Linked DNA regions of Homo sapiens: all the other regions are linked to region 1. Evidence: promoter capture Hi-C in 16 types of primary human blood cells and fetal thymus (Javierre and others, 2016). All regions are on one chromosome and are shown on one strand. Each heading gives the region's core, a stretch centred on a gene start or on the middle of the fragment in contact. The rest is flanking DNA. Distances are from core to core; before and after follow the strand shown. Region 1 holds the start of FOXF2 (forkhead box F2). Region 2 overlaps EXOC2 (exocyst complex component 2). Region 3 overlaps EXOC2 (exocyst complex component 2). Region 4 overlaps EXOC2 (exocyst complex component 2). Region 5 overlaps EXOC2 (exocyst complex component 2). Region 6 overlaps LOC105374873 (a long non-coding RNA gene). Region 7 has its middle 69 kb from the start of EXOC2.

The links. The method cuts DNA at HindIII sites, captures the fragments that hold promoters and counts their contacts. A CHiCAGO score of 5 or more calls a contact.
Region 2: a fragment that was not itself captured here is called in contact with the fragment with the promoter of FOXF2 in region 1 in 2 of 17 cell types (total B cells and total CD4 T cells); the score reaches 6.0 in total B cells.
Region 3: a contact is called between a fragment that was not itself captured here and the fragment with the promoter of FOXF2 in region 1, in 6 of 17 cell types (naive B cells, activated CD4 T cells, megakaryocytes and 3 more). The highest score is 7.1, in naive B cells.
Region 4: a contact is called between a fragment that was not itself captured here and the fragment with the promoter of FOXF2 in region 1, in 2 of 17 cell types (activated CD4 T cells and total B cells). The highest score is 6.3, in activated CD4 T cells.
Region 5: a contact is called between a fragment that was not itself captured here and the fragment with the promoter of FOXF2 in region 1, in 4 of 17 cell types (naive B cells, total B cells, naive CD4 T cells and 1 more). The highest score is 7.7, in naive B cells.
Region 6: a contact is called between a fragment that was not itself captured here and the fragment with the promoter of FOXF2 in region 1, in 2 of 17 cell types (endothelial precursors and M0 macrophages). The highest score is 7.0, in endothelial precursors.
Region 7: a contact is called between a fragment that was not itself captured here and the fragment with the promoter of FOXF2 in region 1, in 3 of 17 cell types (endothelial precursors, non-activated CD4 T cells and M2 macrophages). The highest score is 6.6, in endothelial precursors.

Annotation. Positions count from the first base shown.
Region 1 is chr6:1,387,797-1,391,238 of GRCh38, forward strand. FOXF2 (forkhead box F2) reads left to right here and starts at 1,780. Exons shown (of 2, transcript NM_001452.2): 1 at 1,780-3,322. The coding sequence starts at 2,152. FOXF2-DT (FOXF2 divergent transcript) reads right to left here and starts at 1,665. Exons shown (of 3, transcript NR_187218.1): 1 at 1,223-1,665. MIR6720 (microRNA 6720) reads right to left here and starts at 2,615; the gene lies at 2,518-2,615. RefSeq lists an enhancer at 2,962-3,442. The HindIII fragment of the contact is 4,023 bases long and covers 1-3,442 here.
Region 2 is chr6:552,116-555,557 of GRCh38, forward strand. EXOC2 (exocyst complex component 2) reads right to left here. Exons shown (of 28, transcript NM_018303.6): 20 at 3,112-3,173; 21 at 1,739-1,805. Among named protein-coding and RNA genes, the nearest start is that of HUS1B, 100 kb to the right of the region's middle. RefSeq lists an enhancer at 1-615. The HindIII fragment of the contact is 1,846 bases long and covers 883-2,728 here.
Region 3 is chr6:570,359-573,800 of GRCh38, forward strand. It overlaps EXOC2 (exocyst complex component 2), which reads right to left. Exons shown (of 28, transcript NM_018303.6): 13 at 2,162-2,286. Among named protein-coding and RNA genes, the nearest start is that of HUS1B, 85 kb to the right of the region's middle. The HindIII fragment of the contact is 4,243 bases long and covers 1-3,442 here.
Region 4 is chr6:640,515-643,956 of GRCh38, forward strand. The region is part of intron 1 of EXOC2 (exocyst complex component 2); the gene reads right to left. Among named protein-coding and RNA genes, the nearest start is that of HUS1B, 15 kb to the right of the region's middle. The HindIII fragment of the contact is 5,163 bases long and covers 1-3,442 here.
Region 5 is chr6:680,686-684,127 of GRCh38, forward strand. The region is part of intron 1 of EXOC2 (exocyst complex component 2); the gene reads right to left. Among named protein-coding and RNA genes, the nearest start is that of EXOC2, 11 kb to the right of the region's middle. RefSeq lists an enhancer at 3,266-3,345. The HindIII fragment of the contact is 1,423 bases long and covers 936-2,358 here.
Region 6 is chr6:739,997-743,438 of GRCh38, forward strand. The region is part of intron 1 of LOC105374873 (a long non-coding RNA gene); the gene reads right to left. Among named protein-coding and RNA genes, the nearest start is that of EXOC2, 49 kb to the left of the region's middle. The HindIII fragment of the contact is 634 bases long and covers 1,438-2,071 here.
Region 7 is chr6:760,382-763,823 of GRCh38, forward strand. No RefSeq gene overlaps it. Among named protein-coding and RNA genes, the nearest start is that of EXOC2, 69 kb to the left of the region's middle. The HindIII fragment of the contact is 732 bases long and covers 1,307-2,038 here.

The DNA.
Region 1 (3,442 bases), core at 530-3,029:
CCCATGTAGGTACCAGGGGTGCTCTGGAGGAAGCTGTCGACGCCTGTTCAGCTAATTTAGGTTTTCTTTGTCTAATTACTGTGGAGCTTAGGGAGAAGGAGCCGGCTCAGGGCAGTAAACTGACACTCGGTCTCTGTGTGTGGTATCCAGGCAGGGTTTGATGGAAAAAGCCTGCTTCCACTCAACCTCAGGTCACTGTCTGGGGCCAGCCCCGGCCCACCCCCCTCCCACATACCCCTCCCCTCCCCACCCGCCCTCTCTGCATCTACAGCCCCACCAGCACACTCAGCCAGGAGCAGTCCCCCGGCACTCCAGGGGCACACAGGGCTCCTGCCGCCCCAGGGGGCCTGCCTAGGCTGTGCGGCTGTGAAGGCTCTTTGCCTGGTGTCTTCCTCCTGATTACTGCACAACCTCCCTTTCTCCTGCCTCCTGCAACTCCCCAGGCTCCCCAGCAGGCACACCCGTGCACCTCGGTCCTTTCAGCCTAGACGCAGCGGGGTGCCCAGCTCTACCTCCTGTTTGGTCCGCTGGTCTGCAGCACCTTCTTTCTGGGCCTCCCCCTTCAGCCCTTGGGAGGCCCCGCCAGCTCCGGCCTCCTGCTCTCCTCCTCCCTCTCCCAGCTCCTATCCCTGGTCGGACTACATTTCCCTGCACGTGTAATCCAATAACTAACTGTCGGGTCTCATTGGAAGTGATTGCTCCCGAGGGCACATCTCTCTCAGAGCCTGACTCTTACTTAGGGAGGAATTAGCCACAACTGGGGAGAAGTGTTCTCGGACAGGAGTTAGCTGAGACCTGGCACAGTTTTGGGTGGGCAATGTTAAGACGGAGGATGTAAACCTAGTGACAGCTGCACACCCCTTCAGGACTGACTATAAATATAGCCATCTCGCTTATCTCAGGGTCTTTCTTTTTCTTTCTCTTTCTTTCTTTTCTTCCTTCCTTCCTTTTTCTTTTGCACTTTTTTCTTACAGAACACTAACTGGGGTGCGGGGGTGGGGGGAAGAAGTGGAAGCAAATGCAACCCTAAGTCCCATGAGATCCAGGTTTCCAGAGTCTTTGAAACTTGGCCTAGGTTTCTCAGTGTAAATCCCTCTGCTCAAAGTTCCGAAAACGTCCACGATCGCCAGCGGCCCGCAACCCTGCGGCGGCCCCCAGTCGCCCTAACAATTGTCGGGGAGCCTGCAGGCCCTGCCAGAAAGAGAGAGGATTGGCACGTTACCTTTGGGCGTCTGGCACCCCGGCGTGTGGCTGAGGGCGGCAAAGTCTAAACGAAGTTGACAGATGGAGTCAGTATCGGCCCTGGGGAGGGCGGCCAGGGAGGCTCCGAGCAGCCGCACCCGCAGCAGCACCACTCGGCCCGGCGGGCCAGGAGGAGGAAGGGGGCGCGGAGGGGCGGGGCTGGGTCCTGGGATGGGACGCGGGGCTTGCTGCGGGGGGCAAACAGAAAGAATATTTCATGAAGTCAGAGGTGGTCGAGTTTTGCGAGGGGTGGGGGTCGTCCCCCTGGCAGAACCGGAGTGAGTCTGTGATCCCTCAATTGGAAAGAGGGTGAGTGAGGGAAAGGGGAGGAGGCCGCGAGAGGAATGAAGAGCGAGGAGACCCTGGAGAGCGGGGAGCGAGATAAGAGAGGGAGGCGGCCGCCAGGTCGGGAGGGGGAGGAGTGAGCGCGGCGGCGCGGAGCGAGGAGGGGGCAGGGCGGGGTGGGGGGGGAGGGAGGGAGGGAGGGAGCGAGGAGGGCGGCCGGGGAGGGCGAGGGAGGGAGGAAGTCCGAGAGACAGAGCGAGGAGCGCTCCTGAAGGGAGACGTCGGGCTCGTCCCCGGGGTCCAGGCCGCGGTCCCACTCGCGGGCGCAGTCGCCCGGCGCCGGCCGCTCGGCCCCGCGGCCTGGGAGGCCGTTGCGCAAGGCAGGGCCCGCGGCTCGGGGAGGGATGCGCCGGGCGTTGCCTCCCGCCCGCCGCCGCCGCCGCCGCCAGAAGCCCCAGAGGAGCTGAGGGAGGCGACGCCGAAGCGCTGGCCCGGAGTGGCCACGGCTGCAGCCCGGGCGGCGGGCTAGGGCGCTCGCAGGGCTTCTGGGCCGACCCCGCTCCGGCGCCTCCGCTTCCCGCCCGGGGCCCGCCCTCGCGGCCCGGCCTCGCTCCCGGGTCCCAGATGACCACCGAGGGCGGGCCGCCGCCGGCCCCGCTCCGCCGCGCGTGCAGCCCGGTCCCCGGCGCGCTCCAGGCCGCCCTGATGAGCCCGCCGCCCGCCGCCGCCGCCGCCGCCGCCGCCGCCCCGGAGACCACCTCCTCCTCCTCGTCGTCGTCCTCCGCCTCCTGCGCCTCGTCCTCGTCCTCCTCCAATTCGGCCAGCGCCCCCTCGGCTGCCTGCAAGAGCGCGGGCGGCGGCGGCGCGGGCGCCGGGAGCGGGGGCGCCAAGAAGGCGAGCTCGGGGCTGCGGCGGCCCGAGAAGCCGCCCTACTCGTACATCGCGCTCATCGTCATGGCCATCCAGAGCTCGCCCAGCAAGCGCCTGACGCTCAGCGAGATCTACCAGTTCCTGCAGGCGCGCTTCCCCTTCTTCCGCGGCGCCTACCAGGGCTGGAAGAACTCGGTGCGCCACAATCTCTCGCTCAACGAGTGCTTCATCAAGCTGCCTAAGGGCCTCGGGCGGCCCGGCAAGGGCCACTACTGGACCATCGACCCGGCCAGCGAGTTCATGTTCGAGGAGGGCTCGTTCCGCCGCCGGCCGCGCGGCTTCAGGCGGAAGTGCCAGGCGCTCAAGCCCATGTACCACCGCGTGGTGAGCGGCTTGGGCTTCGGGGCGTCGCTGCTGCCCCAGGGCTTCGACTTCCAGGCGCCCCCGTCGGCGCCGCTCGGCTGCCACAGCCAGGGCGGCTACGGCGGCCTCGACATGATGCCCGCGGGCTACGACGCCGGCGCGGGCGCCCCCAGCCACGCGCACCCTCACCACCACCACCACCACCACGTCCCGCACATGTCGCCCAACCCGGGTTCCACCTACATGGCCAGCTGCCCGGTGCCCGCGGGACCCGGGGGCGTCGGTGCGGCCGGGGGCGGCGGCGGCGGCGACTACGGGCCGGACAGCAGCAGCAGCCCGGTACCCTCGTCCCCGGCCATGGCGAGCGCCATCGAATGCCACTCGCCCTACACGAGCCCTGCGGCGCACTGGAGCTCGCCTGGCGCCTCGCCTTACCTCAAGCAGCCGCCTGCCCTGACGCCCAGCAGCAACCCCGCCGCCTCGGCAGGCCTGCACTCCAGCATGTCCTCCTACTCGCTGGAGCAGAGCTACTTGCACCAGAACGCTCGCGAGGACCTCTCAGGTAACGCAGCACGCTCCAGCCCAGCCAGCTGGGCGCACCGCTTCTAGGCCTCCAGGGCTGGCGGCCACTGCCACTCCCACAAACAGGGACCCCGAAGCTAGGAGGTCTGAGGGCACTGGG
Region 2 (3,442 bases), core at 556-3,055, 840 kb before region 1:
TAAGCTATAGCAGAAAACACAGAGATCAACCACGTTGCTAAATAGCAGAAATCAGCCCCGCCCTGAGGCAAATGCTTTAAACCCTCCCATGAAGTCCACACCCAGGCCCCCTCACTGCCGACATACCTAGGCAGGACGTCGCTCCCTGCTTTTCCTTGTGAGGACCAAGTGCCGCCCCCTCTGTGTGTCGTTCCCTAATGCTTTGCACTGATGACCCTGCATTTCATGCTTCTTGCTTTGGAAGGCCAGCTGACCTCATTTTGGGGTGGCTCGGGATGGCCCGCCACCACTCTTGGGGCGACTCCACCTGCAATTCTGGGTGAACAGAAGAACCAGCATTTTTCTTTTGTTCAGCCAGAATTCTTGGTGTTCTTATCTACTCCCAGGCCTTATATATTGCTTATATACTGCTGATTCACAAATCTGTATCTAGATTTCTCTCCTGGGATCTAAACAAGGACATTCAATCACCCACTGGATATCTCTACCTGTATGTCACCCATTCAACAACAACAAAAAAAAACCCAGGTTCTCGTGAGCCTGTGTTTTCCCTGAATTTCTGTCTCAGTGAATGGTATCATTCTCTACCTAGTCATCCAAGGAATTGAATCTAGAATAATTTTTTAAATTACTTTGACCAAACTATATTTTTTCTAATATACCAAATCCCTTATTTAGGTATTCATACTTACATATATAGTAGAACATTTGGGTCAAACAGTTTTACCTTGAGACAGACACAGACCACACACACACACACACACCCCCCCTTCAAACTCATGACAAACCAGAGAGGGTTATTTATTATTATTATTTTTCTGAGATGGAGTCTCACTCTGTCACCCAGGCTGGAGCACAGTGGAGCCATCTTGGCTCACTGCAAGCTTCTCCTCTTGGGCTGAAGCGATTCTCCTGCCTCAGCCTCCCGAGTAGCTGGGATTACAGGCACCCGACACCACACCAGACTAATTTTTGTACTTTTGGTACAGACGAGGTTTTGCCCTGTTGGCCAGGCTGGTCTGGAATTCCTGATCTCAAGTGATCCACTTGCCTCGGCCTCCTAAAGTGCTGGGATGACAGGCATGACAACCGTGCCTGGCCAGAAAGGGTTATTTTATTTATGATAGCTAGAGTTTGAGTTTCAACAGATGAATTTATACACATGATAATATATGTTTGTGAATCTCCTTAAATACATGTATACATTTTAAAAAGTGTGTGTGTATATATACATATGTATATATGCAGTGTATGCATACATCTGTTTGTGTATAAGTGTGTGTGTGTGTGTGTGTGTGTGTATCTATTTGAGGCTGTGCTCAAATAAAAGGCTACGATGGAACTTATAGAAATAAAACAGAGAAAAGCAGAACTACTCTGGTTGAAGAGGCAGGAGCCGTGAGGGGGTGGGCATCCTTGTCCTCTGCCTGCTCCCCAACCCACCCTGGCAACTCTCAAGCACCAGGAACTATAAGGGCACCCATTTAACACTCGGAAACCACACAGATGCAGACAGTATATGGAATGACTGACACTGCAACTCCAGCTAAAAGTGTTAATTGTGAAATTCATATAAATTATACTTTCCTGAAAATTTCACATAATAGAGCTCCAAAGCACAGCACAGTGTCCTATACCACGTGCTATAGCAAGGATGCAGGAACACAGTCATTAGATTTGCGAAATTGTTGTTACACAGTTTTAAAATGGTTTACTTTCTAGTTATCGTCTGACTTACTGAGGTCAAGCTGAAGTCTTCATGGATACTTCCAAACAAGTCAGGGGAAGAAACATCAACAGAGAGACTGAACATAGAAGCAAGTAGGAACAGTTACAAATAAAGCACTCAAATTCAAAAATGCAATGAACTATACGCAAATTTAAACGTGCAATGAATTATATGGAAAACATTTGGTGAAAGTCACATAACTTTTTTTTTTTTGAGATGAAGTCTTGCTCTTGTCCCCCAGGCTGGAGTGCAAATGGTGCGTTCTTGGCTCACTGCAACCTCCTCCTCCTGGGTTCAACCCATTCTTCTGCCTCAGCCTCCTGAGTAGCTGGGATTACAGGCGCCCGCCACCATGCCTGGCTAATTTTTATATTTTTAGTAGAGACAGGGTTTCACCATGTTGGCCAGGCTGGTCTCAAACTCCTGACCTCGTGATCCGCCTGCCTCGGCCTCCCAAAGTGCTGGAATTACAGGCATGAACCACCATGTCCGGCCAGAAACTTTTAATAAGTGTTTTAGACTTAACAGTTAACAGCTCGAAGAAGGTACTATGGATAATCTGTTAACATGGGCAACATGACATTTAATCCATAATATGAGGGATCTGACTAACAACCAATTCCTGGTGAAATAATGAGCTAAAAATATGAAATCAAATCAAAGAAAACCTAGGAGAATTAAAAACTTATTGGGTCTCTAGGGAGGTGATAGTTTTATATACTGAAAAGCAAAAGCCAAAACCAGTAAATAGACAAACATGGATAAATTCCCAAGTTGTCAACTGAAGATATAAGAGGCATTTATTTCAGTATTATCTGTGTCAGAGCATAAAGTACACAGAAGTTACACATGCCAAGTATAATTCAGAAAGAACGGATTTCTTAAAAAAAAAACCAGCACTTTACAATGCTGTCCTATACAACAGCATTATAAAAGAATTACCATATGGATTTGTAAACATCAAGAGCTAACATGTGTCCACTGGAGCTCCAATAACTAAGCTTGACATAATTCTACCAACATGCTTAGTCTCTAGCAAGAGCAATGGTGCCTCCCCCTAACACCAGAATTGTAAAAATCATCAACTAGGAGTTACATATTTACATTTAACACTTTATTATTTATAAAACCTGTTCTTTGGATAATTAATAAGCTAATCATGTCTTCAATTTGCTTGATTTGTCTCTAATAAGGCAAAGATGAGTTGAAAAGATAAACTATGGAAAGAATATAGGTCGAATATAAAAAAAAACTATTACTTCGATATGAACAATCTTTCTTTCTTACTAGAAGTCTTAGGATATAAGACCAAGCATAAAACTTGAGCCTGTATTTTTAATTCTCTTAAATGCATTAATGAGATTAATTTAATTTTTACTTACTGTGTAGTATCTATATCTGCATCAGGCTTGGTGCTCAACTGTTCCAGACAGTATATAAAAACCTAAGTGAAAACATAAGTTTCAGAACTCTCAGAGGAATGAACTCCTAGACATTAATCTATTTGGACACTAAAGATAACTTTACATAAAGTAGAATTATATATCTCATTAGTGGTGTGGTGTTGTGTGCATGTATGAATATGTGTATATACTGTATATGCCCCATTAATGACAGAAATATATATCCCAGCCATATCTATCACATAAGTAATAGACAATTAGAAGTGCCTATGTTTTGATCAATTATTAAGTTTGTAAAGATATATTCCGG
Region 3 (3,442 bases), core at 262-2,761, 820 kb before region 1:
TCCTGACCTCGTGATCCACCCGCCTCGGCCTCCCAAAGTGCTGGGATTATAGGCATGAGCCACCGCGCCTGGCCCTAAAAGAGTAATTCTAATTCTTTAGATGAGTTGATTCAGCTTGACATTATTCAATTCTACTCCAGCAGTTCATCAGTCTACTATTTTCTAATGTTACAAAATTTTGTTCACTGAACACCTACCATGTGCCAGGCCGATGAGATTTCAAACAGTGGAAATACTGGAATAAATTTTACTCCAAATAATAACAGCAAACTCTTACTTATCTGTCAGACATTATTATCAGCACTTCACTCATGCTAACTCATTGAATTCTCAAACCAGTCCTATGGAAGCAGGTGCAGAGAAGTAATTTGCCTAAGGTCACGGCTAGGAAGTGATAGACACTGGATGTTTCTATTATGCTCCTAGTGTTCTGCGTGAAAACCTATGAATGCCATCTGTCCAAAGGCATGACAGGGGAGCATCTAATCTTTCCTGCCCACACGAACAATTTGGTTTAGGGACAGAGCAGACACAGAGAGGAAGCTGGTGCCTGCGGTGCCACTACTGTCACTGTGCAGAGGGCAAGGGGGACCCAAGGCTTGACCTCAGCATGGTGAGCCCCACAGCTCACCCAGCTGAGATCACAGAGACACAAACTGATGGTGACACACAGAAGCAGAGTACTGGAAAGACTTATCAGGACAAAACTGAAATTATTCACTTCCTAAGCCAGCAATAAGCAACTCTCATTATGTAGACCTGCGAAACCTGACGTTCGTTTCATGGAAGAACTTCCTCTGTATAGTCAACTTTTCAATAGAGTTCATACATAACTAACAAAGAAAAGAAAGTTGTGTATTGCTTTAATATTTGAATGTTCACTTATAAAGTAACTGATAACTGAAACTAAAGAAAAAATGCATTGATAAGTTGTGCTTACACGATTGGTTTTTCTGCACTAAGGAGTTTGTGTTCATGCATTACACATTTCTGTTTTTATGCACATAGTAAATTTTATAGGTTAGAAAACCAACCATTCACATAAACAAGGCTGCAGGAATCCAGCGGGTTTACAACGGAGATACTAGGCACTTGGAGTTCAAATATACAAAGAAAAAAGTTCCAGAGCACATCTCTATTTCCTTAATATCAGCATGAATTTATGGTCATGGCCAAATGAGACTCCAAAGACACCTGAGGTACTCTGACACTTAGCCACTTTCCGCCAAGGAGGAGAGGTTTAAACCACAAAGGCTGTGCCTTTGTGCAAAAAACCAAAAATGGTTTTAGCCTTTGCCCATGTCCATTTTGTGTGTTGCCAAGTCAAAAAGAAGCAGAAAGTAGCCTTTACTCTCAGAAGACCCCTATCTCCCCCAGAGCTCTTGGTGTAGAGTCGGTCTCCTGCAGAGACACGAAACACCTGTCTTCTCAGTCTCCCACGGGGGTGCCCTTGGCAGCCTAGGACAAAGGGCGTTAGAATCTATGTCCAGGAGCCGGAGGCCTTTCATGGCGCACTTGAGGTGAGGTTAGAAAGTGACTGACTTCCATGTGCCACACATAACAGAGTCATTCCTTTATGTTCATGCCTTCTATGCTATCAGTCATATGATGATGAAGATACTAAAGCATTAATAAATGTGTGACTGCAGAAGGTGGACGGGCTCATAAAAACTTCTGTAAGCTGATAACAATGGGGCTAGACTGCAGAATGTTTACATCCTTTCCAAGGGAAATTGCATACTCTATGGATGACTTTGTTCCGGGTGCCGGCTGCCAAGGTGCTATCCTTGTTTCCTCATTTGTTCACAGTCTACCGCACATCACCCAGAATTTGGCCTGACTGGCAATATCTCAATTCGGAGTCCCTGAAAAGAGTTCGAGCTTTCTTTTTTCTTTAATTGCCTATCTCATTTAATCCCTACAACCACCTTTTGAGACAGGTGCCCAGACTATTCTTTTTGTACATGAGGAAAAGTGACTTGTTCGAGGTCACACAGCTACTAAGTGAGAGGGCTTTATAATGCTTTAACTGATTTTAAACTATGACGATGGCTAGAGATGTTGGGCCTCTACATTTTAAAAAATCACTTAAATCTAACATTTTAAAGACCAGAAATGCACGGTGACTCAGCTCCACCTCTAGCCGAGTCCGTATACACACCTCACTGAAGAGGCTTCCATTAACGTAGGAGATCCAGAGTTTCCAGAAGTTAGGCAGCTGGCTCAAGACGAGTTTTGTCAATTTTTCAACAAAGGCCACCCTGTGGGGAGTTTTGTATCTCCACGCTAAGGGGGAAAAGAATAAAATACTATGATTGTACTTCTGAATCAAGAAAACACCTTTGAGCATATTGGCGCACCCCCCTCCACTCCCGCAAAACTCCAACATGCACTAGGAATAGCCTGAGTCTGCGTGGACGCTCGCGGCCCACCTGGCTGACACCGGCAGCGGTACGCTCGTCACCAGACACCCCCGCATTTCTCCTTGCCCTCTGGCAAGGAAGAGCCCCTCTCCCTCATGGCTGACCAGCAAGCCAGGGCAAGGGACCAGGTGGCCACAGCCTCAGTACTGGGAGGGCTACCGAGAGGAGGTGGCTTTGACTTATCAGCCTTGTCCTCTGGATAGTAAACGTCTCTTCAAAAAGTCCCGCCTTCTAACAGCAAAGGCAGGGGCTGCTGTGCAGCCAGTTGTGAAATTGCAGCTGATCAGCCTGTGAGAAATGCCATCATACACCCTGGGAAGTGAGAATGCAGGAAGGAATCCAGTTATCACAAGGAAACATTCTAGTGCAATCACATACTAAATAACCCCACCTAAAATAAAGAAATTTAAGAAAAACTAGAAACGTTGAAACCTCTTTGGCTATACATCATTTAACATAGCTATTGCTGTAACTGGGAAATAAGGGCTTAGACTTCTTGTGGGAAGAACAGGTTCATGGGAATAAAGCAAGTGTAGAAATTCAGGACCCACTCACCATGTCCTCTGTCTCCCTTCTTTCTTTTCACTCCCAGGGCCATGCCTTCGCCCTGCTGCCTCCCACCTGCCTCCCGCCCCGCACTCCACTCGGTGGCCATGGCAGGGGCACTGCAGAGTCCACCCCGTCCAGTCCTCAGCACAATGACGCCGCGGATCAGGCTCTAACTCCTACTCAGCAACTTCAGGGGCAGGTGGACTCCCATGAGAACGTTTATTCCCTGGGCCAGGCTAATTGCTAGCTTCCTTTCCAAATACCCCCAAGCAAAAGGATTTGCTGTTGTTAGTCCAGTGAAGGAAGGGCAAATTTTATAAACTGTATTAATAAAATTTCTTAATTTTATTAAGAAATTTTATTAATAAAATTGTATTAATAATTTATTAATGATTTAATAATTTAAATAGTTATTTGATCAGGTAATACATGGTTAGAAAATGACACCTGAAAGGTACACAGTGAAAAGT
Region 4 (3,442 bases), core at 591-3,090, 750 kb before region 1:
CCAGCCCCAGTACCCCAGAATGTGGCTGTATTCAGAAAGGGGGCCTTTAAAGAGGTAATAAAGGTGAAACGAGGTCACATGGGTGGGTCCTAATCCAGTATGACTGGTGTCCTTATTGGAAGAATTTGGACAGAGACACACACAGAGGGAAGGACATACGAAGACTCATGAGAAGACGCTGTCTACAAGCCAAGGAGAGAGGCCTAAAACAGATCATTCCTCACGGCCCTCAAAAGAAACCAACCCCACTGACTCCCTCATCTCAGACTTCTAGCTTCCAAAAGGGTGAGAAAATAAATGTATGTTGTTTAAGCCACTCGGTCTAGTATACTTTGTTATAACAGCCCTACCAAACTACTAACAGCAGGTACAGAAAAAAAAAAACTTCGAAATCATTCTAAAGTTTGATACCAAATTAATATCGAGAGAAATTTTTTACCCCTAAAAGAACTAGATGCCATGAAAATAAATGAATCCAAGAATAAAAGCTCTTGAAATTTTCAAAAAGGTCCAAAGACACATGACTTATACAGTCATAATAATGTAGTAACTGACCACCGGTTTAAACAAAATTGAAATAAGGCACAAAAGGCGGATGTGTGTTTGGGGGCAGGCAAGACAGGTAAACCAGGGAGTGACCATCTTTTCTCTCACATAATGGGAGGCTGACAGCTAATGTCTAAAACGGACCACCAAGAAATGGCAGATTAGAAGAATCTGGAAATGTTGCAGTGGATGGCAGGAGAGAGTGGAATGAGTCTGGGGTATGTTGTATAATAGAGTATTTGACCTCTGTCCCTGGTTTCTGGGAGCGAGTCTTAAATCCTTGGTGTTTTCCGGCAATAGGAGGGTCTTTGTTATTCATGATCCTCTCAAACCACGCCCTAGTATAGGCCAAGATGACTCAACAGCAGGACTGGCCATTCCAGAAAGACCATGGGATTAGAGGGTTAGGGTTTTGAGCAAAGCACCAGCAAACCAACCTCCTGTGGAGAGGCGGGGCTGCAGATTAGGTTCAGTCCAACACGACTTAATCAATCATGCCTACGTAACTTATTTAATACAAATAAAATGGCAAAACAACAAAAAAGGAAGTCCAGAAAAACATTATCATTCATCCAATAAACCCAATGAGACAACTCAAGGTTACCTTGAGTTCCTCTCCTTCCCTCTGGCACCCCCTGAATCAAATAATCAGTATCTTTTGTCTGAATCAAAAATCAACTATTCCTCTCAATCCTACTGTTTCCTCCTGTTGCTCTCCCACTTAAGACCTTCGTCTTCTCCCCTCAATGCTGCAACAGACGTATAACTGGTAACTCTGCCCCATTTTCTCTCCACTGCAATCCACCCTCAGCAAATGCCAGTTAGTTCTCTAAAATATGGAGCTAATCAATATTATCCCTACCTTTAAAATAATCTTCTATGAAATCCACTGTTTTGTGGTCTGCACAGCCCACAACCTCCTCCACATCCCGTTCAAAGCCTGTCACAGCTAGACCCGTCCACACTGCCTACTTCATCTCCACCACTCCTCTCCTCTGACATTCCCCACATGAGCCCATTCACCTCTTACGAACCTGCCACATGCTTGTATTCATGTAATTCAACCTCTTTGCACCAAAGAGAAATTTCCAAGTTTATTAAATCTTTACCAATATTTCAAGTCATGCTCAAATGTTATTTTAGTCTCCCTGATCCCTCCTTCTATTAAACTTCTACTACATAATGTTAATATTCACTGTGTTAAATTTTAGATATTTTATTTGTTTCTTCTTTGAAAACACATCTTTAATCAATTTTATATCCCCACTTCTCAAGCTGTGGGATCTGACATGCTCATGTCAGGACTGAACTGAATTAGAGGACATCTAGCTGGTGTCCGCTGGAGAGCTGCTTGCTTGGTGTGTGGGGAAAACTTCACACACACCTGGTATCAGGAGTGTGTACTGAGTTAGTGGCTGTGTGAACATAGAAAGTAGGAAAAACACTTGGATTTTTTCCTATCTCTTTATAAGCAAATAAGCAGATAACCGAAATGGACCCCAAGATGAACCAGACAGAAGAATTAGTAGATAAGAACTTAAAAGAGTCTATAACAAATGTTATTAAAATATATGTAATCATAATGAATAAACAGATGGTTGTTCTAAATAGAGGAATTAAAATTATAAAATTATTTTTTAAAAAGAAATGCAATGCAAATTCTAGAACTGAAAGGTATACTGTCTGAAATGAAAAATACACTGATTAGGCTGCACAGTAGGTAGAAGATATTTGAAGAAACAGTCAGTGAACATGATTATAGATCAATATAGTTATAGAAATAGATTTATCTAAAGATATATAGTTCTTTAAAGTACTGGAAGAAAAAAAGTCTGAAATTAAAGTTGTAAAAGGCATTTTTCAAGTAAAAAAAAAAAAGTTCATTGCAAACAAATCTGTATGACAAGAAATGCTGAAAGAAGTTCTTCAATCTGAAGGGGAAGTGATACCACAAAGCAATTTGGTAGGAGAGTTTATAATGATGAAAGGACAAATTCATCAGAAAGACATAACAATCAAAACTGTATACACCTAATACAAGAGCTTCAAAACCCATTAAACAAAAACTGATTGATAGGGAGAGATAAATACACAATCATAGTTTGAGGTTTTAATATTCCCTTTCAATATTAATAACTAGATATTAAAAAACAAACAAAAAACATAGAAGATATGAACAGCACTGTTGGTCATCCTGACCTGACATTTATAAAACTCCTTTTCAGGTGCTCATGGAATGTTCACCAAGATAGACGATATGCTGGGCCATAAAGTAAGTCACAGGCAATTCCAAAGACCGAAATTCCGAAGATTACAAAGGAATCTTCGTTAGCAATAGAAACACAATATCCAGAAAAGTATCCAGGTATTTGGAAATTAATACACTTCTAAATAACCCAACATTCAAAGTAGAAATTAAGAGGGAAACAAAATATTTTGAAATGAATGATAAGAAACATTTATCAAAATTTGTGGAATGCCACCAAAGCAGTAACTTAAAATCTTAGAGAAAAAATATTTAAAATTAAGAATCTATGTTTCCACCTTTTAAAAAAAAAACTAGAAAAATAAGGGCTAAATAAACTCAAAGTAAAGGGGAAGGAGGGCAGGAAAAGGAAGCAGAATGACAGAAATAGGAAAAAAATAAACAGTGGAAACCAATAACATAAGTAAAAAGAATTTGAAAAAAATTAAAGCCAAAAGTTCTTCACCAACAATTAATGAATTGATGTTTCAAAAAAACTCTCTAGAAATGAAACAAAAATTATCAATTTCAGTAATGAAAGAGGGAATAACCATAGATACTAAAGACATTTAAATAGCAATAAAGACAATGAACAGCTTTATGCTGATAAATTTTACAACTTAGATGAAATGAATTCCTTGAAAGACAAGT
Region 5 (3,442 bases), core at 397-2,896, 710 kb before region 1:
TTTTTGGGCTGGGGGTGGTGCTCATTTCTCCTGTAAATTAACTATCTTAAGAAAGTGATTATAACAAATGATAGTATCCTTTACATTAAAGAAAAAGGGATGAAAAAAAGTTACTGTGCCAAGCTCTCTGCCAGCAATCTTCAGTGGGCTTGCCTGGGCTTGTCATCATATTCTTTCTTCACTCTAGTGTCTAGTCCAGTGCCAGACACTCAGTGAAACGGTGGCCGGGCTGACCAGATCTGGGGATGCACGGGCTCTTCTTTCATCTCCTCAACAACAGCAGCAGAGACCTCAAAAGGCTGTGTGAAATTCCTGCCATAAGAAGCTATAAGATGCGGCTTCTGAGAGGGGTGTCAGCTAGATTTGTTTCACAGGACAGATGCCATTCCTTGATTCTGTACTGTGTGCCATGCACTGTCTTTTAAACCAATAAATCTGGTCACAAGAGCAACTGCCAAAACCACTATAAAACCTGAGTGCCCTAATTACATCCTAAAAGGTCACAATCAACCTGTGACAGCTCCTCCTGATCTTCAATACAATTCATGCTAAGGAAAACAATCAGATAAATCCAAATTAACCAAACATCTAAGCAGAACAACTCCTTTTCTATCGGTCACCTCTGGGTGACAAGAGGTCCAGTTCAAATCTGACCTTTAACTGAAAGGTCCAAGAGGTGAAAAGTTTGATATTCTATTACTGCTTCCACACAGAATTACACGAAAACCAGAAATTCTAATTTGTAGGTGCAGATCTTTAATGCTGTGTCTCCTTTCTCCCCCCACCAAAGAAGTATTTTAAATGTTTAAACCAAAATGAGTTTTGCCCCTAATAAATTTTAAAATATTACTAAGATATTTATAATGAAAGTTACCAGAGAAACTTGTTTTTCAACTATCCTTTAGTCCTATAAAAACTAGGCCAAAACTCATTTAAGCTTGATTTTTCCATTTAAAAAATCCAGCCATAAAAGAGAATGGGATAGTACTGAGAATATATAAAACAATTCTAACTTTTCAGTTCTAATGAAAAGTGCAAATAAAGGTAGTAATCTTTTTCTTAAAGATAACCTTGTTTTCACAGAAATGCACTTGGAAATAGGGTTTTTAAAGTGCTGTCAAGGTACTGTGGTTCTACAGATACTTTGCTTCTCTGCCCTTGCAAGAGAATCAACTGCTCTGGAGGATAATTCCCCCTTTAGTTACCAGAGAGCAAAACCCTGGTCCTTTTCCTGCTCACTGCTAACTCCTGGAGGATTTTGCCCAGTAAAAGCTAAGGTAGAAATGGAGGGAATCTGTTCAGTCAGGATTTATTCATTTAGAGTTCTACATCGAATTTTAAACAACCAATTAGCACCGGCATTGGTGAAACTCCAGAAGGGCTGGGAACAGGAACCTGCATGACACAGCACTGCAGAAAAGTGCTGGTGACTAACAGCCAGTCACACATAGGGCACTTCTATCCAACACAAGCCTTGACCATTCCGCAGTTCCTATTAAATATTTCCCAGTTTCTTTTTTTTTTTTTTTTTTGAGACGGAGTCTCGCTCTGTCACCCATGCTGGAGTGCAGTGGCAGGATCTGGGGTCACTGCAAGCTCTGCCTTCCGGGTTCATGCCATTCTCCTGCCTCAGCCTCCCGAATAGCTGGGACTACAGGCAACCACTACCACGCCCGGCTAATTTTTTTGTATTTTTAGTAGAGACAGGGTTTCTCTGTGTTAGCCAGGATGGTCTAGATCTCCTGACCTCGTGATCTGCCCGCCTTGGCCTCTCAAAGTGCTGGGATTACAGGTGTGAGCCACCGCGCCCGGCCCCGAGTTTCTAAAATACAAGTTCATTTCCACACATGATTACTTAACTATAACCATCATTTATCAGTATTTTTTCCTCTCTCTCTCTCTCCAAAGAATTTTCACTTCCTAGGTAAAAGTCATACAGTAATGACTAACAATATTATGCATATATTATGTCATAATTGACATAAAAGGCCACATATATGATTCCACTTATATGAAAGTTCAGAATAAGTAAATCCATGGATGCAGAAAGTGGGAAAGGATTGATAATGGATTCAGGGTTTTCTCCGGGTGTGATGAAACTGTTCTGGACTTAGATAATGGTGATGGTTGTACAACTTTGTGAATAACTGTGCTTCAGAATTCCTCTGAGCATTAGTTTAACATCATTAGCACCATAAACACAGAACCCCAAAAAACTGAACACAAAAAGAAATACAGGATGGTATCATTTTTTAAAAAGTGCCCAACATGACTAAATTCCTGAAGTCTGATTCCAGATCAGTTGAGGCAAAGGTACACCAGGGCGAGGAGTGAAAAGGTACCAGGAGGGTAGGAGAAAGCTTTACCCTCGCAGTGATGGAAACAGAGCTCAGGTACTGAAACCCAGGGTGAAGAGTAGCAAATAAAGCAGCAGAACAACTCCAAGCTAAACAGACTGACCTTGCGGGAAGATGTGAGTGGCCTAGACTTTCTAATCCTTGACAAACATCAACACCACCAACTCCATTCCAGCAAGACTGCCAGGAAGACATGAAAATAAAGAAGCTAAACAATGCAAAATCCCAAGTGATATCAAGAGTCTACATATGTTTATTCAAATAACAAAATACTTGACCATCTCAACAATAATGTTCAGGAATGAGAGAGGAACAAAATCAAGAAAATATTACTAAGCTATTCATAATGAAAGGATTGGATAAAAAGATATTCTCCTAAATTTATACTACTACATAAAAACAAAGTTTCATTTGTCTCGACTTGTCAAATCTTTAGGATGAAATAAACCAATATCACCGCTGACAAATATAATAACTATGGTAAACAGGCATGCCAAAATCAATGCAGAGTTTCAGAAAAGGTCAAGAAACCAACCGTCAGCTTAAATTGGTTAATTTCATTAAAACTGTTAAACATGACAGGATGTCGCTAACTCCCAGGTTCTTTTATATGAGCAAAGTTGGATTAATTTGACCCAAATTTTGTATAATAGCTTTTCCAATTTCCAAAAATACATCAACTTTGTCACTGATCTTACAAATTCTGCTTTCCTTCTCTAGCTCTATCTCAAAAGAAGCTTCTCGAAGGCCATAAATCTTGACATAGTGAAAGCAAAATAATCACAGCACTCAACAGTGCCGTTAACATTTCTGAGCCGTGAGGGATTAAGCAGGCAGATGCTATGGAAAGTGCCTGTCAGGAAAGGACAGCCCAGAGTTCAGAACGCACCGCAGCTGCGAAGGATTGAAGCTGCTAGCTATGGAATCAAGCTCAGGAGAAACTCTGGGCACAATTCCGGCATCCGAAATAAATTAAAGTAAACAGTGTTGCTCTCTCTCTCATCCACCCTGTTAGCAGCCTCTCGGCTGAGCGGGAGACCACACACTCGGACCACACAGCGCCAGCTGAACTCCCTCGCACGCAA
Region 6 (3,442 bases), core at 505-3,004, 650 kb before region 1:
TGGTGAAGGGTTTCACCTCAATGTTGATGGCTGCTGACCAATCAGGGTGGTGGTTGCTGAAGGCTTGGCCTGTGGTAATTTCTAAAAATAGGACAACAATAAAGTTTGCTGTATCAATTGACTCTTCCTTCATTTATTTATGTATTTATTTGAGACGGAGTCTCACTCTGTCCCCTAGGCAAGAGGGCAGTGGCACAGTCTTGGCTCACTGCAAACTCCGCCTCCTGGGTCCGAGCAATTCTCCTGCCTCAGCCTCCTGAGTAGTTGGGATTACAGGCGCATGCCACCACACTCAGCTAATTTTTTGTAGTCTTTTTTTTTTTTTTTTTTTTTTTTTTTTTTTAGCAGAGATGGGGTTTCACCATGTTGGCCAGGCTGGTCTCGAACTCCTGACCTGAGATGATCCACTCACCTCGGCCTCCCAAAGTGCTGGGATTACAGGCATGAGCCACCGCGCCCGGCCAACTCTTACTTTCATAAAAGATTTCTCTGTAGCATGTGATGCTGTTTGACAGCACTTTAGCCACCATAGAACTTTCAAAATTGGAGTCAATCCTCAGCAACCCTGCTGTTGCCTTATCAACTAAGTTCATTTAATATTCTAAATCCTTTGTTGTCTTTTCAACAATGTTCAGAACATCTTCTCCAGAAGTACATTTCACCTCAAGGAACCATGTTCTTTGTTCCTCCATAAGAAGCAACTCTTCATCCATTCAAGTTTGATCATGAGATTGCAGCAATTCAGTGACGTTTTCAGGCTCCACTTATAATTCTAGTTCTCTTGCTATTTCCATCACATCTGCAGTTCCTTTTTCTACTGAAGTCTTGAACCCTTCAAAGTCATCCATAGTGGCTGGAATCAGCTTCTTCCAAATTCCTGTTAATGTTGATATTCTGACCTCCTCCCATGAATCACAGCTGTTTTTAATGGCATTCAGAACAGTGAATCCTTTCCAGGATTTCAATTCACTTTGCCTGACCGAATCCATTAGAAGAATTACTGTCTGTGGCAGCTATAGCCTTTATAAAATGTGTTTCTGAGATTGTAGGACTTGAAAGTTGAGATTACTACTTGATACATGGACTGCAGAATGGATGTTGTTTTAGCAGGTGTAGAAACAACATTCATATTCTTGTATATCTCCATCAGAACTCTTGGGTGATTAGGTGCCTTATTAATGAGTGTTAATATTTTGAAAGAAATATTTTTTTCTGAGCAGTTACTCTCAAAAGCGGGATTAAAATATTCTGTAAACCATGCTGTAAACAGATATGCTGTCACCTGGCTTTGTTTTTCCATTTATAAAGCACAGACAGAGTAGTTTTAATATAATTTTTAAGCATTCTAGGATTTTCAGAATAGTAAATAATCACTGGCTTCAACTGAAAGTCACTGGATACATTGGCCTCTAACAGGAGAGTCAGCCTGTCTTTTGAAGCTTTGAAGCAGATGTTGACTTCTTCTCTCTAACTGTGAAAGTCCTGGATGACATCTTCTTCCAAAAGAAGCCTGGTTCACCTACACTGAAAATGTGTTGTTTCGCATAGCCACATTCATCAGTGATCTCATCAGTGATCTTAGCTAGATCTTCCGAGTGTGTTGTTTCACATAGCCACATTCATCAGTGATCTTAGCTAGATCTTCCGGATAACCTGCTGCAGCTTCTGCAAAGCGCTTGCTGCCTCATTTGTAATTGTACTTTCTAGAAACGACTTCTTTCCATAAATCTCATGAACCAACCTCTGCTAGCTTCAGTCTAGCTGCAGCTTTTTTTCTGCAGCTCCTCTCAGTCTTCAAAAGATTGAAGAGAGTTAAAGCTGTGTTCTGGATTAGGCTTTGGCCTAAGAGAATGTTGTAGCTGGTTTGTTGTGGTCTGGTCTACCTAGACTACTCACACTTTCTCCATATCAGCAATAGGGTTGTCTTACTTTGTTATCATTTAAATGTTCACTGGAGTAGCATTTTTAATTTCTTCAAGAACTTTTTCTTTGCATTCAGAACTTGGCTAATTTTTTGCCATAAGAGGCCTAGCTTTAGGCTCTCTCATCATTTGACATGCCTTCCTCAATAAGCTTAATTATTTCTAGCTTTTGATTTAAAATGAGAGATGACTCTTCCTTTCACTTGAGCACTTAGAGGCCATTTGTAGGGTTATGAATTGGCCTACTTTCAATATTATTATGTCTCAGAGAATAGGGAGGCCTGAGGAGAGGGCAGGAGATGGGGAAAGCCAGCTGATGGAGCTGTTAGAATACACACAACATTTATCAATTAAGTTCACCTTCTTATATGGGCTCAGTCTGTGGCACCATTGCAATAGTAACAACAACTGTCACTGATCACAGATTACCATAACAGAAATAATAATAATTTAAAAGTTTGAACCACTGTGTGAATTACCAAAATGTGACAGAAGAACACAAGGTGAGCCCATGCTGCTGGAAAAATGGCGCTGGTAGACTTTCTGGATGCAGCATTGCCACAGACCTTCAATTTTTAAAAATAAAAGCAGTATCTGCAAAGCACAATATAGTGAAACACAATAAAAAAAGGTATGCCTGTATGGATTGCAAATAATTTCTCCTAGTTTACCAACATAATTTCCCTTTTAAGGAGTGCCGTTTGATTAATAGAAATGTTTAATTTTAGCATATATTAAGTTTTATATTTATAGTTCTAAAAATTTTAGAGAATTGTTTCATATATTTATGCCTTTGATTTTTGTTTATGGTGTGATGTAGGGATCCAATGTTATTTTTTTCATACTGATAATTAATTGCCCCAGCACCATTTATTAATTAGCCCCCAATTTTCCCACTGGCTGATTTTTAATGCCATCTCCAACAACTATCATAGTTCATCAAATGCAGAAACCTCTTTCAGGCTCTCTTTTCTGTTATTTTTTTTCAACGTTTATATCTCTATATAAATACTACGTTTTCTTAATTTCAGTAGCTTTATATTTATTCTTGATGTCTGATGGGGTATACCCCTCCACTTTCTTCAGTTTCCTCATTAGAAGTATTTTATCTGTTTTTGGTCTTTCATTATGTTATATAAATTTAAGAATTATTTTATCAAATTCCACAGAAGCCCTGTTGAGATTTTGGTTGGAATTCCTTAGCATGTGTGTGTTAAATAAGGATAATATTTAATTTTCTCCTAAATTTTTCATTCATTTTCAACATTTAATAATCATTCACTGAGTGACTATAGTAGGTCCTGCGAATAAGAAAGTGAAGGAACATGACCTTCAAACTCAGTTAAATAGCAGTATAGTAGGAGCAGGGCATCCATACATAACTATAATACAACAATCATAGCAAACTTTTTATTGGATGTATCATGTGTCAGACACATTTTCAAGCAGTTGACATATATTGTCTTATTTAATCCATAAAAACATATAAAGTAGATAGTATTATATTCTATAGATGAGGA
Region 7 (3,442 bases), core at 423-2,922, 630 kb before region 1:
TATCACGAGAACAGCATGGAGAAAACTGTGCCCATGATCTAATCACCTCCCTCCCTCCACATGTGGGGATTACAGGTCCCTCCCTGGACAAGTGGGGGTTATATTTTGAGATGAGATTTGAGTGGGGACACAGAGCCAAATAATATCAAACACACAACATATATAACATATAGCATATATAATATTTAGTAAGATTTTTACGTATATATTATATACATGTGCGTGGGTATCTATGTACACTCTTGATTGATTCTGTTTTTCTGAGAACCCTGACTAACACACATTTTGATACTGGGAAGTTGGGTTCTACTGTAGCGAATTTCTAAAAATGCAGAAGTGGCATTGGAATTGGGTAATGGGAAGTGACTGGAAGAAACTTGAGGTACATGCTTTTAAAAGCCTAGAAGACACTTGGTAGAAGTATGGATATTAAAGGCAATGTTGGGGATAAGAAATTACCTGTTGGGGGCCGGGCGCGGCGGCTCACGCCTGTCGTCCCAGCACTTTGGGAGGCCGAGGCGGGCGGATCACGAGGTCAGGAGATCGAGACCATCCTGGCTAACACGGTGAAACCCCGTCTCTACTAAAAATACAAAAAATGAGCCGGGCGTGGTGGGGGGCGCCTGTGGTCCCAGCTGCTGGGGAGGCTGAGGCCGGAGAATCGCTTGAACCCGGGGGGCGGAGCAGGTTGCAGTAACGCATCTGCAAAGCAGGAAGCATCAAGCAATGCTGGCAACACCACGAGAAGCGGCGAGGGAGAATTCTTCCCTAGGCTGCAGGGGGCAGGCGGCCCTTTCGGCGCGGTGACTTTGGACTTCCAGCTTCCAGAAGCCTGAGAGAATGTGCCTGTGGTCGGAGGCCACCCGGGCCGTGCTAGCGTGTTAGGGCAGCTCCGAGAAACCCGCCCAGCGTGGCCGTGCATTTCCCTTAAGCCCAGGCCTCGGCTGACAGATGCGAAGCGGTAAGAAGAGAAGGAAAGGCCAGCTCTCTGTGTCTCTGGCCGGGATGGGTACCCCCCACGCGGGGAAGGAGAGCTGCTCCTTCTGCCTTTTCTGCTGATGACAAGTGAAATGACGAGAGTGAGGAAAGCCGATGGCCGCGGCCGGCCACACGCTGCAGGACTCGGGAGCTGGTGCACGGAGCTCGGAAAGGTGATGGCACTGCCCGGAGGGGCAGCTCTCTGGATTTTGAGAAAGGCACGTCTTCCCCAGTCTAGTTTCAGACCCAGAGGAAAGCCCGGTTCTTGGCTGGCATTTAAGCTCCTGATTTTTCTCACGTTGCTTTCTCACTGTAATTGTCTTGATCAAGCTTTCACCCTGTGAGATCCACACACAGGAGGAGAGGGATGCAGCTCTCAGCCGTTCACAGAGCCCGGCCCTACCGCACTGCTCAGTGTGCCTACTCTTGGCAAGATGCAACTTCCCGTTCCGAGAAAAAGGACTTAGAAAGGATCGTAAAATGGGCTCCCAAGTCTCCTGGAATAGCAAATAGCTTTTAAAAGACAACCCTTTAATGGCCTATGAGTAACCAAGTCAAAAACAAAAGTATTGAATATCCCTTTAAATGTATGTGAGTTTAAAAAGCAAGATGGGAATACATTTGGCAAAGTTTCTTCTGGATTTTATAGAATTCAAAATACTCGAGAAATTTTTACCTATACGCCCACACACAACTGCAAAACTGTTATAAACGACGTGGGGAGATAACAAAAACGATACTGTGCAAATGCAAACAGTATGCAGCTTCTGCACTGCTGTGCCTGATGGAAACATTTCTCTCTTTTATGAGCTTCTCTTTGCGGATGGAGACGGAAGAAAGATGGGCGTATGAGGCAGGGAGGGGAGAAAGGGGGAAGAGACGCCTATTCCGGGGCTCCATGGCTGTTCTCGATACTCACTCGTGTTGCTCTTTAAATGGAACCATTTGCTGCACATTTTGAATCGTTAACATTTGGTAGAATAGGGGACAATGGATTTTCATGTAAACTATGAATTTTATGACAATGAATTAGCATGTTCATTGAACAGAAAGTAAACAAAGCTTAGTACAAAATTGGTTCAGTATATAACCTAACTCTTCTGCTGCTTAATGAAGTGATGGGATGAAACCAAAACAAATAGCTTTATGCTTTGTAAAGCACAGGGAAACATACTTTCGTGTGTAATTACTGCGTGGTTATGACAAGGCTGGTACCTGCCTGAACCATCAGTTACAAAGTTTGCAGCAACCACTCCTGCTTTAGCAGACTGGGTGTTGAACTAACAAATTACAACACTGGCATTAGAACAGAGAGGAAAATATACATGCAAATATAGTCAGTTCTGACGAACCTCCAACATCTGTTAAGCACCTACTGTGTGTGTACCAGGCACTGGGGATATGGCACAATGAGATGGGGGCATTTGCATTGTCCAGAACTCTAGGGAGGGTAGGGAGGATGAGGTATGATTGTCTTAGTTGTTCTGTGATGATTAATTTCGTGTCATCTTGACCAGACCAGGTTAGTTCAGATATTTGGCTAACCTTTATCCTGGGTGTTTCTGTGAGGGTGTTTTGGATGAGATGGGCATTTAAACTGGTAGACTGTGTAAAACGGATGGCCCTCCCTTAAGTGGGTGAGCACCATCCAATCTGAGGAGGCCCTGAACAGAACAAAAACGCAGAGGAGGGGGAATTTGTTCTCTCTCCCTGACTTCTTGAGCTGGGACATGGTTCTTTTCCTGCCGTCTTTTTATGCCATCGGCTCTCCTGGTTCTCAGGCCTTCGGACTCAAACTGAACCCACACCACTGGCTCTGTTGGGCCTCCAGCTTTGCAGCTGCCGTGGCTTCTACAATTATGTGAGACAATTTCTTATCATCTCCCCACACGTCTCCCACCTGGGTTCTGATTCTCTGGAGAACCCTAATTAATACAGATTTCCAAGAAGGAGACACTGAGGCAAGAATCTGAGGACTACTAGTTGAATAAGAATGACCCAGGAAGCATGGGTAGGAAGGAGAGTGACAGAAGTGAGACAGGGAAAGGAAGGAAGCCAGCCAAGGCTCACTGGCACTGGGGGCAACGGGCCATACTGGGAAATGGTATGGAACGGAAGCTGGTGTTAGTCTGCCTGAGGGTGAGGGAGATGGGCTAGTCATCTTCCAGCTCTCTCCCCCTTCATTGCCTGAGAGCTGCTTCTGGGAGCGTTAACTCCTTAGCCCTTCTGGCCTCTGCTGTGCAGATCATGAGAAGCCTTCAGAGGGAGCACAGCAGGTTCTTGTAGATGGATGCTCTCCACAGGTCCTGGAAGCTGAGGACCGAGGGCATAAGGGTGAGCATTGAACGGCATCCACTATCATGACTGAGGGAATGGAGACTGGGCTGACAACAAGGGCAAAAGGAGTTCAGGGGAGGAAGAGTATTATGGGATATAGTAAGAAGGGAGAAGTTTATGGAGGAGT